Linked DNA regions of Homo sapiens: region 2 is linked to region 1. Evidence: promoter capture Hi-C in human tissues and cell types (Jung and others, 2019). All regions are on one chromosome and are shown on one strand. Each heading gives the region's core, a stretch centred on a gene start or on the middle of the fragment in contact. The rest is flanking DNA. Distances are from core to core; before and after follow the strand shown. Region 1 holds the start of HK3 (hexokinase 3). Region 2 has its middle 12 kb from the start of UNC5A.

Region 1 (3,168 bases), core at 236-2,735:
CCATCTCTACAGTTGGAGATTGGCACTAAGGGGCTATGAGGGAACCTCGTGAGGACTTGTCCTTCCCTTTGTTGGTCAGTGGCCATCTGGTGTCTGAAGAGAACCGCTGGCAGCTGCAGTGCCTCTGCTACAGCCAGGCTGTCCCAGCTGCTCACAGACCTCAAGCTCAGCCATCCTTCTCCCTCCACTGGCCTTGACCCAGACTTTCCCTGGCATTCTGACTAGGGAACCAGGACCCCTGCTCCTGGGGTCTGGACACAGACCTTCCAGAAACGCAGATGAAGAGCCCTGGCCATGCTTGTCAGGGGCATATCCTCACCCTGGCTCAAGAAATGGCAGGCTATCTGCATGAATCACAGCTGGGCCTTTCATAGTCAGTTCCACATTCTCCTCTCCCAACTGAACAAAGTTGAAAGGGACTGGGATCCCAGGCTAGGCAGGATGCTGTGTTGTTTGTGACAGCCACTCTACCCTCTGCCACCCCATCCCCCACTTCCCTGCCTTTCACAGCCTATATGCCTGGTTGGTACCCAGTAAACTTCACAGCAGGACTGATGTTTGGCATGTTTCCTGGCCTCTTCATGCCACTACTGATAGAGGAGCCACTATCTCTGGTCTCCATCCTGATGTCATGTGGAGGCCTACTATCTGTGGATAGAGTTACTGCTGACAAGGCAGCCTGAAGCTTTAAAGTGTATCCATGCCTTCAACAAAGATTGTTGCAGGCTGTCTAGTATTCTACATTGGTGCCCCAAGGTTCTGTGCCTTTGAGGAGAAATTCCCACAGAAAAACAGCTTGTTCGCCAATAGCTCCACAGCAGCCTAACACTCCCCTTCTTCCAGTAGAGAAGACCTAAGATGTGAACCTACTCTCCCTGCGCAGGCTACAGACTAAAGGCTAGACTCCGCAGTCTGCCTGTCACCTCCTCTCCCACTATATATTCCTACCTTGGTGTACCCTCTTCAGGCGCCTGGAGCTGCACCTCATTGCTGTGTGTGTGTGATTTGTGGTTGTGCACATGCTCTCCACTTTGTCAAGGACCACTTTTGTCAGCATACTGCTGTTCTTTCTTCAAGACTCAGCTTCTTCAGCTAGCCCTGCCCACTCTCGGCAGAGTCAGTCCCTTCCGCTTGTGCTCCCACATTGCCTCTTGCTCAAAAGTACTTACCATAACCTTTCCAGGCTAGGCGCCTCCAGCTCCTTCTAGGGGCGAGCCACCACCTCAGAACTCACTATATTTGCAAAATAAACAGCCCTCAGCATTGTAGAGGGAATGGCCCAAAATCTTAGACCCAGTTCAACGCTCCACTTCGCGGTAATCATCTTGCTCAAGTTTTCACCACAGCCTTGCCTAGCCTGGGCTACTCTTAGGGCAGGCTTGGAAGGAAGTGCAGCTTCCTGAATTAGCTGATGTTTGGTAAGTGGTGGTGGAGGAAAAGGGTGGGGCTTGAGGATATTATAACTCGGGTCACCCCTGAGTGTTGCTTTTGGTCATTGGGGTGCCTCATATTGCCAGACAAGAGCTCAGACCTGAGGAGAGTGACTAGCTTCTCTGTGTCCCAGGTAAGCACTTCGGTCTAATTACTGCCTGCTCCTTCCACAGCTGTCTTGTCCTCATCCCTCCTGTTTGGCTCACACCAGGGGAAGTGGACACTGGAAAGATTAAGCCAGCTGGTTCTCTTTCTTTGTTTTTGAGATGGGGTCTCTCTCTCTATCACCCAGACTGGAGTACAGTGGCACAGTCAGGGCTCACTCCAGCCTTGACCTCCTGGGTTCAAGTGATCCTCCCACCTCAGCCTCCGGAGTAGCTGAGACTACAGGCGCACACCACCACACCCAGCTAATTTTTGTTATTTTTTTCTAGCGATGGCGTTTTGCCATGTTGCCCAGGCTAGTCTCACATTCCTGGGCTCAAGCAGTCTGTCTGCCTCAGCCTCCCAAAGTGCTGGGATTACAGGTGCAAGCCACCACACCCAGCCTGCCAGCTGGTTCTCGATGGCAGCTCCCAACATCAGTAGAGGTCCCTGGGGTACTTTTCAGGAGGAAAACTCACTTCGTGTAGCCCATTCAGCTAAGGGAAGCCACGGGGCCCTTAGGCAAACAGACCCTGGGCTCTGGGGATACTGCAGTGAAGGAGACATGTCCCTCCCCACAGGGAATCTCAGTGGGAAGAGACAGAGCTGAATACATTTACCTAGCATATAAATATTAGGGCTACTTGGGGATTGCTTCACAGATTCTGTCATGTAAAAATGCTGAATAAATATTGAATGGATGAGGGAATGAATGAGTGAGTGAATGAATAAATGAACTAGCTGGGCCTTGAGAAAGACACGTGTGTAGCCCTTAGTCCTTTTCGAAGGTAATTGCCCCAGTTACCTCATTTTATCCTTGAAATAGACCTGCAGCATAGAACAAGAATTCCACACCCCTATTTGACAGATTTGGAAACTCAGCATAGGTATGTATGGTTTGGGGAGATTTATCAGAAGCTGATTTGTTGCTTTATTAAATAAAAAACTACCCACTCCCCTTGCTTCCAATTTTGGAAAGGCACATTAGCACATACCTATACCAGACCCTGTGCCGGCCATGAGTGCAGAGGTGATCAAGTTGGGTGGGGTAAGGAGGTGAAGAAACTAGAAGCAGAGCTATCAGTTTAGGAGGCTGTTGTAATAATCAGGCCGGAGGATGGTCTGGTGCAGTGTGTGGGAATGGGGAGGAGGGGATGCAGAGGAGAGCTCTTAGAGAGCCTGAGATCCAATTGCATAGAGGAGGTGAGGGTGAGGGATGCGCGCAGGCAGCCCGAACGGCCGTGTGAGTGAGCACACTTCGATGTCTCCAGTCAAGGTGGAGAACAGAAGAGCTTTGTGGGGGTAAGGTGATGGAAAAATGAGTATGGCTTTGTTGAATTTGAGGAGCTTCTCCACCATCCAGATAGTGATGTCTAACAGACCACTGGGATTTAGGATTTGGCTGAGGCCAAAGGTAGATTTGGGAGCCCTGACACAGCTATTAATGAAACCTTGGGAATGGGCGAGATAAAGGGAGTGTAGAGGGAGGGCATGACCGAAACTTGGGAACCCCATTGTCTGAAGGAACAGAAATTACTGATGAAGACTACGAGAGACTCAGGAAGGAGACCTAGGAGAGACTGGCCGTGAAAG
Region 2 (3,168 bases), core at 187-2,686, 100 kb after region 1:
CACGCAAACACACCCAGGGTCATACGTGCGTGCACACACATATACACACACACACACCTGGACATGTACACACACATGCGGGGATACACATGCTCCCAGGCACACACACACACACAGGCCACACCTGGACACAGCCCACGCACTAGCACACCCCACACACAAATGAATAGAAAGTCTCTCTCACACATATGCAAACACACACACTCTCTTCTTCACCCTCCCACACAATCATCAAGAGACTCCAGTAACACTGCATTAGTGAAGAGGAGACTAGGTTAAGATTTTAATAAGCTTTTAAATAAACAAATATACCTTTACCAGGACACCATGTTTTTTATTAATGTGACATCTTGGCCTTATGTTTCTTGAGAATAGAGGAGCCACACAGCCGTCTTCACACATGGCCACCCGTGCATGCGTGTGGGTGTAGAGTTGTTTTTGAGATGAGTGTGTGTGCTGTTCATGGCTGTGAAGGAGACACACGTCTCCATGCAGGTGTGTGCGTGCAGGGATCTTCTAAGTGTGTGCTGAGTGTGCGTGTCACGGGCAACAGCTCAGGAAGAAGCAGTGTGTGTGTGTTGTGTGTGTATGCTCATTGTATGTGTGTGTGCTCGTGTGTGTGTGCTCATGTGTATGTGTGTGCATGCTCATGTGTATGTGTGCTTGTGTGTGCGCTCGTGTGTGTGCATGCATATGTATCTGTGTGTGCTCGTGTGTATGTGTGCTTGTGTGTGCGTGCTCGTGTGTGTGCTCGTGTGTGTGTGCACACATGTGCTATGACTCTGGGGTCCTTAGGCAGACATTGTCAATTCCCAGAGCACTCAGTCTTTCAATTCTCCCTGTTCACCATCGTATTCCTTACTTTTGCCAACACAGTGCACACTCCAGGAATATGTGCTGAACGAGTGAATGAACAGACGAATGTAATTTAAGTATCTCAGTTTCTGTTCTCTTCATTAAACCTCATAAATTGCCCTGTGACTTAGATACCATCCTGCTCATTTTACAGATGAGGAGACTGAGGCTTGGAGAATTTGAAGCAGCACCTCCACCATCGCCATCCACGTCTTCTACCTCCCAGGCTTGCACAGGGCACACTGGCTACCCTGCGGACCCCTGGGAGACCCAAGCAGGGTGGCCCGGGCTCTGCCTTCTCTGAGGTGGGGTCAGCCCTGCTCAGGTCGTTGCAGGAGGGCTGCTGAAGAGGCAGCCTTGTTGGAATCCGGCGCCCATGGCAAGACTCTCTTGTGAGGTTTCCGACAATCCCTGCCCACATTTTCCTCCGCTCCTTCCTGGTGCCACCAGACTCCTGGCCCTCAATGTCTGCTGCCCTGGCCCCTTGAGAGTCCGCTGGAGCCTAGCGCAGAGCAGATGGGCGATGTTCACCCAGAGCAGCCATTCTGACTCTGTCCCTCGGGTCTGGTACATACTGTGTGCCAAGGTTAATTAAACCGGTAATTAGAAGGAGAGATGCTTAATCTATCTGGTTAGTAAAATAACCCCCCTCGCATGAGCTTGCGGACGCCGTCACTCTCCGGGCGGAAGCGGAGATGCCGCAGCCCCGACATCGTGGATCAGCCAAGCAGAACGCTGCTTGCTGTCTGTGGGCCTGGCTCCTGCCCCGCGCGGCTCCCCGAGTCCTGGAACCAATTCCTGGGCCCACCTCAGCCACTTCAGGGTGGGATCTTGGAGGGAGCTTCAAGCGAGGTCAAGCCGGGGAGATAGCTGGGGGTGTCCAATCCCAGAGAAGGCGCCGCGGTGACAGGCGGCACCACAGGTTTGTCCCCCAGGCACCAGGCCCAGGGCAGTGGCTCAGCACCCCGGGGGTCTCGCCCGCGGCCGGGACCCTCTCCTGTCCTTTCCTCACTCTCCTTTCCCTTCCTTCAAGGGGAGCTCTGACCCTCGCACTCTAAATTATATCCTTGGTGAATATCTTTAAAAATTAATTTTTAATCCTACATATAAAACATGAATACATTATTTTGTGTTTTTAAAAAAGACTGCACATCACCCCGCCTCACATCCTTGGTTTTTCCAGGGAGAAAGCCGCTGGCGGAGTCTGCTGCACGGCCTCCTGGGCCTTTCCCTCCATGGGTGCAGGTCTATATGTTGGCATCAGTCACTAGATTTTTTACTATCTGGTCTCTTGCTGTATGCTTCCTTCAGCGGTGTGTCTTTCCCCCTCACTAACCACATGATGAGCTGATGTTTTCTTCAGGTACATTTCATCGAGATGGAATTTTTCTGGATGAAGAGAGGAGCCTTCCCCGCCCTCAGGACCCCACGCCGGGAACGTCTTGGAACCTGTATCAGGGCACCCCCTGAAAGTGGACCCTCAGCCCCAGGGGTCCACCCTGCCCCACCCCAGGCTTGCCGCCACTGCCCAAACACTGCCCCAGCCCCTATTCCCCCTGTGCCTGGAGTGGGTCAGGGTGACAGCAGGCCCCTTCCCTCCTCCATCGCGGAGACACCGCAGCTCACAGAGGACAGCTCTCTGTGTGCGAGGCTGCCTCAGCCCCACTGTAGCGGCCGCCTCCTGCCAGCCTCACAGGCCCCCAACAGGGTCTGGCTCAGGTGCAGGGTCTTCAAAGAGACAGGCCACCTCCCACTTCCCACCTCAAAGGACAGCCTGGAGGGACAGGGCCTGAGTGACAACTGCTCCCTGGGGGCTGCTCACCTGCACGGCCGCCCCGCTCTCTCTCAGCTCCTGGCAACAGTGAGAGCAGACCCAGCTGATGGGCAGCAGCCGCAGGCGAGGGCGGACGTGTGCGGGTGTAGGGGAACGGGTTTTATTAACCTCGTAATGATCCACTTAATGGGCTTTGAAGTCGGGCGCATCCAGCAGCTAGAGCAGGTGGCCCCGAGGCCACAGGGTGTGAGCTGGTGGGACGTGGGAGTCTGGAGGGTCTTTAGCTACCAGAGCTCCACACCAGTTCCCAATCTAAAGGGAATAACAGGACACATGTTTATTATTATTTTTTAAAGGGGCATGAAATAGATTAGAGAGTGAAGGCAGGACCGGACAGGGCATGGGCTCATCCCACCTGGTTGCTGGTGCCAGCTGTGTGGCCTTGGGCAAGTCATATCAGCATCTGAGCACAGCCCGCTCACCCTCACCCACCCATCTGTCCATCAGATAGTCATTCATTCAACAGGTATTTATTGACC

What was found. The method cuts DNA at HindIII sites, captures the fragments that hold promoters and counts their contacts. A contact is called where the count stands out against the background at its distance.
Region 2: a fragment that was not itself captured here is called in contact with the fragment with the promoter of HK3 in region 1 in 4 of the 25 tissues and cell types used here (H1 embryonic stem cells, bladder, mesendoderm cells and 1 more).

The regions. Positions count from the first base shown.
Region 1 is chr5:176,897,663-176,900,830 of GRCh38, reverse strand. It overlaps HK3 (hexokinase 3), which reads left to right and starts at 1,485. Exons shown (of 19, transcript NM_002115.3): 1 at 1,485-1,564. RefSeq lists an enhancer at 164-665. The HindIII fragment of the contact is 11,300 bases long and covers 1-3,168 here.
Region 2 is chr5:176,797,181-176,800,348 of GRCh38, reverse strand. No RefSeq gene overlaps it. Among named protein-coding and RNA genes, the nearest start is that of UNC5A, 12 kb to the left of the region's middle. RefSeq lists an enhancer at 1,245-2,191. The HindIII fragment of the contact is 8,487 bases long and covers 1-3,168 here.